3 separate regions of the Homo sapiens genome follow, and all the other regions are linked to region 2. Evidence: promoter capture Hi-C in human tissues and cell types (Jung and others, 2019). All regions are on one chromosome and are shown on one strand. Each heading gives the region's core, a stretch centred on a gene start or on the middle of the fragment in contact. The rest is flanking DNA. Distances are from core to core; before and after follow the strand shown.

Region 1 (3,224 bases), core at 309-2,808, 160 kb before region 2:
CAGGGAAATCTAGTGAGCTGTGATCACGCCACTGCACTCCAGCCTGGGCCAACAAGTGAGACTCTGTCTCTAGAAACAAAACAAAACCCACCAAAAACAGTGTAGTATTTCCACATAACCTCCTGTGCACATCCTCTTGCATAAAATTATCACTGGGTTACTTATAATACCTACTAATATAATGTAAATGCTATGTAAATAGTTGTTATACGATATTGACATTTTTTGTTTGTTTTGTTTTTTACTGTTGTATTAGGGGGGTTGGGTTGTTTGTTTGTTTGGAGGCAGAGTCTTGCTCTGTTACCCAGGCTGGAGTGCAGTGGTACGATCTCGGCTCACTGCAACCTCCATCTCCTGGGTTCAAGCAATTCTTGTGCCTCAGCCTCCCAAATAGCTGGGATTACAGGCATGTACCACCACACCTGTTTAATTTTTGGATTTTTAGTAGAGACGGGGTTTTACCATGTTGCCCAAGCTGGTTGCGAACTCCTGAGCTCAGGCAATCCGCCTGCCTTGGCCTCCCAAAGTGCTGGGATTACAGGCAATAGCCACCACACCCGGCCTGTTGTTGTTTTTGAATATTGTATTTTCCATCTGAGGTTGTATCTGAGGACACAGACCCCAGGGATATGGAGGGCTGACTAGATTAAGGTGGGGCCTTTTGGGGTGTGATTAGTCAAGTAAGATTAATGGGATTAGCTCCCTTATAAAAGAGGCCAAGGGAGCTTGCTTGCCCTTCCACCATGTGAGGTTACAGTGAAAAGATACCTGTTTATGAGGAAGAGGGCTCTTATCAGACATCGACCTTGATCTTGACCTTGATCTTGGACTTTCCAGTCTCCAAAACTGTGAGCAATAAATTTCTCTTGTCTGTAAGGCACTGAGTCTAAGGTACTTTGTTGTAGCAACCAGAGCAGACTAAGGCAGCCACCTCTTAGACCTACAAGTGTGCACACCAACGGCACAGCTCCTGGAACCCAGAGAGGAGGGGTCCAGGAAGTGGGCTTGGCAGAGAATTCTGGGGCTCTAGGTATAAGAAGGGTGTTCTAAAAGGAGACCCTGTGCCCTTCTGTCTCTAGAACTGAATCCCCAATGTGATGGGAGGGTCGTGGTGGCAGGAGGGCCCAAGCAGGGACTTCTGAAATGGGAATCCAGAGTACTGACCCCTGCTTTCTTGCAATGGGATTTTCCAGGCTGCAAGCTGACAGCAAAGACTGTCACTTCCCTGTCCTCTGACACTGTTTCACTAATATTTCTACCCTGAAGAGTGAACAGGAAACAAGCAGACCAGTACAAAAGAAAAAATACTGTTTATTCCACACAACTACATCAAGCGCTTCTTCCCCATTCTCCTCTCCCCTTGCTGCCCCTCCAGCCCTCAGGAAGCTTTGTCTGTGTTGGGAACAGTGAGAACCTCAGTGCCAGAGCCTGGTCCAAGAGGCAGGAAGGAAATCTGGGCATGGGAAGGTAATTGGATTTCCAAGAACACAAAAATGTCAGAGTCTCGCATTCCAAACTCGTGTGTTCCTTAGTCCATTTGGCTGAGTTCTTTCCCTGGACTTCACCTGGATAAAATGCCGTGGTAATGCAGGGTCAAAGGCCCTAGCTGATCCACCAGGAAAGTTTTGGTCTTTCTTCCATTTAAAACAAAACAAACAAAACTCCACACAGTTAAACCATTTCTGTCCATTCTCCTCTCTTTCCATAGTAAAGACGACACTAAGCTCTGGTGTAAGTCCAGAAGATGTTTTCAAAACAAAATGTATACCAACTCCTTCAGAGCCTGATGCTAACAAAAAATAAAATAAACCTACCTCCTAGGTGAGAGGTTCAGGCCCCAGCTGCTTCCTGGGGGGTCTTACACTGTGGGAGGAAGGGCAGAGGTCACAGGCCAGCGAGCTGTGCTTTGGGTAAACCTCAGGGACACCCTGCACCCCCATGCCTGGGGAACTCAGCCTGCAAACCTCCCACCCCTGGTATTGTTCCTCTGAATGACCAATCCATCATTCCAGCAGAGGAGAAATGGTTTAGTTTTAGCTCAGCTTTGGGAAGACAAATTTAAATGAGGGAGGGGCTGAGAAAGCATGGCCAGGCCTAATTTAGACCAGTGGTTCATGATTGTTTTCCCATCATGACACAGGACAGATGGTGTTCCCCTGCACGTCCACCACCACAGACACACCCTGGATTATGTGCTATTCCCAGGGTGCCAGCTGTGACCCATTTGTCTCTCTCAAAAAAGAAAGCATACCTGAATGCAAGCGTCTGAGCATGAAAACCTGCATCGCCATAAGTTTTTGTTTGTTTGAGACCGAGTCTTGCTCTGTCACCCAGGCTGGAGTGAAGTAGTGTGATCTCAGCTCATTGCAACCTCCAGGGTTCAAGCAATTCTCCTGCCTCCACCTCCCAAGTAGCTGGGATTACAGATGTGCACTACCACACCTGGCTAATTTTTGTATTTTTAGTAGAGACGGGGTTTCACCATGTTGGTCAGGCTGGTCTCGAACTCCAGACCTCAAATGATCCGCCCACCTCGGCCTTCCAAAGTGTTGGAATTACAGGCATAAGCCAATGTGCCTGGCCTAATTTACTGAAGTGTCAGTCACTGAATCCTTTACAAGCTCTGGAACTTAACTATTCTCACTGAAAACTTGTTTGCAACACCCCTCCCAAATGAGTCTGTCATCTCATTGAGGCAGGTCGATAACCCTGAACTAGAGTGTGGAGACTCTCTGTTGGAGACACGCTCTCCTGAAAAGCTGGGTCAGGCAAGCTGCCCACCTGCTTCCTCACCTCTGCTACACTCTGGCAGGCATGGTTTGTCCAAATGCAGCAGAGCGTGTATGTGTGTGTGTGTGCGCGCGTCTGTGCGCGCTGCACGTGCGTGTGCTAATTCAGCACACAACTGTCCTCCTCTTACTGGCCAGGCTACCAAGAGGGTGGCCACGCTGGCACTGCAGGGCCTGGGAGGCACCAACAGTAAGTGGGAAAGGAAACAGGACACCAGAGGAAGCTAGGCTAGGAGGTGGCTCTGCACCAGTGACTGACAGAGGTGGTGATGTGTCCCCAGCTGACGGTCCTTCCCTCAGGGTGGATCATGGGAGGTCCACTGGAGGCAGCTGTTAGAGACCAGCCTCTGTAAGGATAAGAGTACTGAAGACAGGGGTGGTTGACCCCCGTGACTTGGGGCCCTTTAGGGATAATCTACACCGCAAGCCTGTGGT
Region 2 (3,374 bases), core at 324-2,823:
TGAGAGCAAAACTCCATCTCAAAAAAAAAAAAATACCAATAGGATGTTTGTTTTTATCAGTTCATGTCTCTTCTTCTAGCACCTCATGTTATGTAATAGCTCTACTCCTGAAAACTGGGGCTCAGACTTTTATAAGCTAAAACTCTGATTGCAGTGATATCTTCTCAAAGTGTGGATCTTCATCAGTTAATTTGCCAGGTTTACATATTTAGATCACTTAAATCAGGGCCCAGCTGCCCTGTTAGCAAAGTGGAAACTCTAAATAGCCAACTAAGCAGCATGCTGTACGTGTGTGTGTGTGTGTGTGCGCGCACATGCGTGCAAGCATTGTGACACACACAGTGTGGAGTGGTGTGCGTGTGAGTTTCAAGGTATGTGGAGTCCAAGGTGACTGTCTGGCACCCAGTCTTTCTTGCGTGGCACAAGTGCTGTCGCTGAGAATATAAATGTATCTTGTGTTTGGGTGTGTGCCTTGAAGAGGGACTGTGGTTGGTGTATAAATCCCCTCCTCCAAGCCTTTTGCATTTAGAAAACCACCTAAGCCTGATCCCATCCATCTTTAAAATCGAGAACCTAGACAATTGGAGAGCTGCTTGTTGATAGGGACATGCACAAATACACATGATACCTTATGTCATGCACTGAGCTCTTATTTGGGTGGAAGTCTGGGGCTGGGAAGGAACACCCACCTGAGAGGGCCAGGAATTCCTCCCGGCCTCAGTCCCTCCGACTACGCGGGCATTGGTTTCCGGAAGGTCCTGGGTGCTGTGTCCTTTGTGGGGCAGAAGAAAAGTGAGTGATGACTAAGCATGGGGTCAGCCAGGGGTAGGGGTGGGGGGTGGCGATTGTGCTTTGAGGAATGTTAGCCTTGTCTGCAAATTCACAGTTCCTCTCTAACGAATGAGGGGCCCAGCTGTGAGTTCTCTGAGCCCCTTTTGAAAACAGGGGTGCCTGGGTGCCTTCTGTTTCCCCCAGGTGTTCCCAGAACTCCGGCATGCTATGAAGGACCTCTCTCAAACCACCAGGCTAGGCCCCAGAGGCTCCTTGTGGTCTCCTCTTTGCTCAAGATCACCCTTTGGCCTGAAGAGACCCCCCCCCACTCTTTGACCCCCACCAGCCCCCTAATGCTTTGGCAAGATTCTCCAGGGTTCAGGGCCTGCAGTGCACACCCCAGCCAGGCACCTGCTGAGGAAGTCCTCCTGTCAATGGGGGTGGTGGGGAAGCCCAGGGACCCACCCCACTACCAGATGGGGCTTCTCTCTGCTTTGTGGCCCAGGGACCTGCCACCCAGAGGGGCCTGAATAGCCAGTGGCCCTGACCTTTTCTATCTTGGCCTCCAGGAGAGTAAAGGACGCTCTGCAGGCAGAGCGTCCCACCTGCCCTGGGACAGGGTGCTGGCCTGGACTTAGGGAAAATTTGCTGACCTTCCTGCCCAAGTCCCCCTCCCTATAGACCTCAGGCCACATGATCCACTTACCATAAAGGACCAGGGTTGCGACTGGACCATATCCACTTACCATAAAGGACCAGCATGTTGCCGATGGAGTAGACCACTGCCTTCTTGCTTGGACCAAGCCCTCTTTATACTCCTCTTAGCAGCAAAGCTGACTGTCTTCTTGCCAACTGGCAGGGCTGAGGGTGCAAGGCAGGGAAAATCACAAGTGACATGGAAATACAAATGAAAATATTTCTTTTCAAGTAAACTAATGTATCTGTTATTCAAAGACAGAACAAGGCCAGGGCTGAATTAATCATCTGCTTTTAATTGAAAAGCATCCAACAAACTCTTTTTCAGAAATAAGATGGAGAACCAGGGCTGGTTTTTCTCTAAGGGAGCACCCCTTGTCATCCATCACTCTCTCGTTGTCCTCAGTGGCACCATAAATGCAGAGACTTGCCCTGTGCACTAGCAGCTGGAGGCCAGGGGGATAGTGGAAGAGGGGGGAGTGGTTAGCAAGGGCAAGGAAGACACAGCAACTCTCTCTGCCCAAAGAGGGAGATGGCACATGCCCCCAGGATGCAGGCATAGGTGTAAATGCAGACACAAAAGCCAAATAGATGCAGTGGAGATAATTCTGGGGGAGGAAAGTACTGAGAAACAGGCTTGGGCCCTCTCAGATGGAGAGCCAAGAAGGGGCTCCCAGAGGAGAATATGAGGCAGGGTAGAGGAGGGGATCCTTGGGATGTGAAGACAGTCTGAGGGCTATGAGGGTAGATGGAGGGTGGAGGGCAGAGGGAGAACGAGGGTAGGAGCCGAGGTTCCTGCAGGAGATGAAAGGCTTTGTTCATCACAGTTCGTAGAGGAGAGAGAAGGGAGTTGCGGCCGGGCGCGGTGGTTTACGCCTGTAATCCCAGCACTTTGGGAGGCTGAGGCGGGCGGATCACAAGATCAAGAGATCGAGACCATCCTGGCCAACATGGCGAAACCCCGTCTACTAAAAATACAAAAATTGGCCGGGCGCGGTGGCTCATGCCTGTAATCCCAGCACTTTGGGAGTCGGAGGCGGGCGGATCACGAGGTCAGGAGATTGAGACTACTCTGGCTAACACAGTGAAACCCCGTCTCTACTAAAAAAATACAAAAAATTAGCTGGGCGTGGTGGCAGGCGCCTGTAGTCCCAGCTCCTCGGGAGGCGCAGGCAGGAGAATGGCGTGAGCCCGGGAGGCGGAGCTTGCAGTGAGCCGAGATCGCGCCACTGCACTCCAACCTGGGCGACAGAGCGAGACTCCATCTAAAAAAAAACAAAAACAAAATACAAAAATTAGCTGGGCATGGTGGTGCGCTTCTGCAGTCCCAGCTAATCTGGAGGCTGAGGCAGGAGAATCGCTTCAACCTGGGAAGCGGAGGTTGCTGCACTCCAGCCTGGAGACAGAGCAAGACTCTGTCTCAAAATAAATAAATAAATAAATAAATAAATAAATAAATAAATAAATAAATAGAGAGAGAAAAGAGTTGCAATGTGCCTTGAGGTGGGCAGAGGACCCTTGGGTTGGCCACAAAATGATCAGAGCCACTGCAGGCTCCAGAGCAGAGGACTGTGGGTGCAGCAGTCATGGTAGCAACGCATGGGGTTTGGAATTAGGCAGGGAGAAGCCAGGAACCTAGACAGAAGCAGGACCATCACCTGCCCACCCAGGGCTTTTGTTGCCTAAACACTCCAGAATCCAAGCTTCATGGCTGCAGGGGTGGGAGAAACCTGGAAAATGCTCTTTGAAGGAATCTGCACAGTCACTTTTTCAGTGTCTAGAGCTGTTCAGAGGAGTTGCACTTTGATGCTCAGATAACCTGAAGAGCTTGCTCTCCAGCCTGCCCTCCAGCATTCTGGCACACTCAGGGAAGAGGGGTGAGCTGCGCTAGGGAACCCGGGGCCTCT
Region 3 (3,250 bases), core at 386-2,885, 160 kb after region 2:
GAAGTTCTGGTTACAGAGAAAATGGCGAGTCTCTCAGAGAAGAAGCAAGACCAAGTCTGGCCCTGTCCTTGGTCATCTCAAAGCCATGCCGAAGCATTCAGTTATTCTTGGTGTGCATTGGAAGGCATCCAGCTATCCCCATACCAGCAGCCAGTCACCAGATGTGAATGTGGAAGCAGAAGACCACCTCCTGTTGGTTCTTCTCCTCTTCCTTCTTTTTCTCTTTAGAACGGCCACCATTGAAGACCTAGCTTCCCATTTTCCAGACGTTTTCTCTGAAATTCTCTGCTGGCCTGCCAAGCCATATGGATTCATTCTGCCACTGAGGAGTCCTTCAGTGAGGTCCCTCTTCCTAAAGGACAGAGTGGGGAGTAGGAGGGGAACAGAGAGGACATCCTCTCTGGCTCTCCAGTGCTCTTAGTGTCTACAGGCTCCTAGGCAGCCCTGGGCCTTGGTTTGATTACCTCCCCTGGGGGATGCTGGTCAGACCCAGAGGTTGTCAGGAGGTCAGCTACCAGGAAGATCCATGATCTGGGCATTGGCAGTGCCTGCCACCACAGCCAGGAAGATGCCTCTGACCTGGGTGCATCTCCATCACTCCTTAGCAGCAGCCTGCATAACTGGCAAGAATCTTGGATGATACAAGAGCCAAGAAGGGACATTTGAGTTGTGTCGCTTAGATAGGAAAGGGATCCAGGGAAAATCAACAGTAAGTGAGGATGAGCAGTGTCTCTTGGTTTTCATTGAGGATAGAGTAAGAGATTGAGTTTAGATTGCAACAGAAGGAATTAGTTTAGATACCAGGAAGAACTTCCTAGCCTGAAGATTTGTCATAGTGTCTGCTTTCTAGATATCTGGGAAAGATTTGATAATAGTTGTTTGTGAATAGAAAGGAGGATATGATGTTTTTATTGGCCATTTTGCGGGACTCTTCGACTTCTTGCTGCTGTCTCTTGAGGATACATTCCAATTCCATCCTGGCGAGATCCAAGTGCTTACGTACTGTCTCCTTAGCTGCCTTAGAGTAAACGATCATCAGTTCAATGGACCAAAATCACCTTCAGCCATGTGGTTTCTTCATCATCATGGATTTCTTTTGGTTGACAAACATTCTGGCTCTCAGATGCAAAAAGTCACACTGGGAAATGAACTGTAAGTGGTGAAATTAGTTTTGGTATTTAATTTAAAACTACATTTATAGTTTTTCTCTTCTCTTCTATGTTGCAATGAATGTAAAGTATTTGGGATCCAGTGCTTATAAACCTTTCCTTCCTTTGTGCACAGAATGTAACTAGCAAGCCCATTAGCACCCAGATAATTCTATCATGTTAGTTTCCCATCCTGGAAAATCTTTGTACAGTGGGAAGTTCCCCGATGTGTTTTTCTTTCTTAGGTGAAGGGTTGGCTATATCACTTTATTGAATTTTGCATTCCTTAGACTTTTAAAATATACTAATGTATTCTAGTCTTACTCTAAAGACCTTTGATGTTAAAGGAATCCTTCATTTATTTCATATTCCCTATCTCATAGGGCCACAATTATTTTAATACAGAGATGATTTTCAAAATATTTTAACAACTGGTACAGGACAGATGCCAGCCACTCAGAAGGGATGCCTGCTGTAAACAAGCAGTATGTATGGTTGTACCAATGCCTATTGGCTGAACATTATGCTACTTTCAGATATTAAAATGGTGTTCCTTTGAATCGTGGGTATTGTTCCTGGTTTGTCTCATTTCTATCACAAGGCTGTTTTGGGCACAGCCTTAGCTTCCTTTCATATATATATGGTGCAGACAGGATAGGTCATGCTTCTTGGAACCTATATGGGCATTAAAATCTTCATGAGCCAAAGCTTCACATTTTAGCACTTTAGGATAACTGTAGTAATTGTACTCATTTACCTACCTAATTGGGAAGAATTAAAAGGCAGCCCATCTGGAGGATAAGCTTTCTTGCAGACTTTTCCCTTGTCCCTCTCTGGCTGCCTCCTTGAGCTTGCCACTTTTTCATCTTCATTGTTCCCTGAGAACATCTCCCCTTTCTTGCTCTATCTTGCCCCTCCCATCTTTTCCTGCCACCTCTGTGTGGGGAGGTTGATGACCATTTCACCTCTTTCCCTAGCCTCAGCACAGCTGTAAGGAGTGTATCAAAACTGGGTGAGAGTATCACTCAGAAAAATGCCTCCCCTAACACACGGATGTCTTGTGCTGCCTTGACCGCTTGAGGGGAGGAGCCTTCATTAACTCTGTGTAGTGCAGGTACAGGACCACCTGTGCACTTTAGGGTACTTCTCGAGCTAGACCCTCCTGGATCACTGCGCCTTAGGAATGTTAGCTACTTTTTAAAAAAAATATGATTTGGTGCGTTGTTGGGGTGAACTCCATGGGGAAGATTGTGAGTGAAGATGGGAAGGAATTTGGGTGGTTTTGCCACGAGGTGATGGTTGGGGTTGGGCGAATGGGTTGGATGATCCTGGCTCTGTGGGTGTGGTGCTCGGTTGCCTCCGTACAGTTGCAGTTCACCTTTGTGCATGGTGATTACCAGTCACTCTAGGGATTGTAGGTCCCAACAGCGGTTCCAGCAGCCTGCACAGCTGGTACGAGGACAGCTGGAGGAGGGTCTGATATCCCTGCAAGTGATGCAGGATAAAACTTCCCGGCCGGGCGCAATGGCTCGCGCCTGTAATCCCAGCACTTTGGGAGGCCAAGATGGGCGGATCACGAGGTCAGGAGATCGAGACCATCCTGGCTAACGTGGTGAAACCCCGTCTCTACTAAAAATACAAAAAAATTAGCTGGGCATGGTGGCGGGCGCCTGTAGTCCCAGCTATTCAGGAGGCTGAGGCAGAATGGCGTGAACGCGGGAGGCAGAGCTTGCAGTGAGCCGAGATCATGCCACTGCACTCCAGCCTGGGTGACAGAGCAAGACTCCATTTCAAAAAAAAAAAAAAAAAAAAACTTCCCAATAGGAGGTATTCCTTGATGGCTCTCGAATGCATGAATGATATATCAATTTGAAGTTTCTCGACCTTTCCATCAAGGATCTTGAATTTTTTCTCAATTATGCTTGCTAATGTGTCAAAGGCCAAGTACACTGTATCAAACTTGCCGTCTGTAAGATGCAAGATCAATCTAGTGTTTCAGCCAGTTCACTACTGACATCAGACTCAACTTTGTCCCCTCTCTTTCTTTTCATGCAAGAGACTTTAAGGGTAACCTCTTCAGTTGAAACTGTCTTGGAAGTGCA

The links. Contacts are between HindIII fragments. The study calls those that stand out against the background at their distance.
Region 1: a fragment that was not itself captured here is called in contact with the fragment with the promoter of CELA1 in region 2 in 1 of the 25 tissues and cell types used here (spleen).
Region 3: a contact is called between a fragment that was not itself captured here and the fragment with the promoter of CELA1 in region 2, in 2 of the 25 tissues and cell types used here (heart right ventricle and pancreas).

The regions. Positions count from the first base shown.
Region 1 is chr12:51,185,645-51,188,868 of GRCh38, forward strand. POU6F1 (POU class 6 homeobox 1) reads right to left here. Exons shown (of 11, transcript NM_001330422.2): 11 at 1,292-3,224. Among named protein-coding and RNA genes, the nearest start is that of TFCP2, 14 kb to the left of the region's middle. RefSeq lists a silencer at 2,682-2,821 and an enhancer at 3,192-3,224. The HindIII fragment of the contact is 6,472 bases long and covers 1-3,224 here.
Region 2 is chr12:51,345,106-51,348,479 of GRCh38, forward strand. It overlaps CELA1 (chymotrypsin like elastase 1), which reads right to left and starts at 1,574. Exons shown (of 8, transcript NM_001971.6): 1 at 1,518-1,574; 2 at 690-772. The coding sequence starts at 1,533. The HindIII fragment of the contact is 7,595 bases long and covers 1-3,374 here.
Region 3 is chr12:51,507,484-51,510,733 of GRCh38, forward strand. It overlaps SLC4A8 (solute carrier family 4 member 8), which reads left to right. Exons shown (of 25, transcript NM_001039960.3): 25 at 1-3,250. Among named protein-coding and RNA genes, the nearest start is that of SCN8A, 82 kb to the right of the region's middle. The HindIII fragment of the contact is 4,227 bases long and covers 1-3,250 here.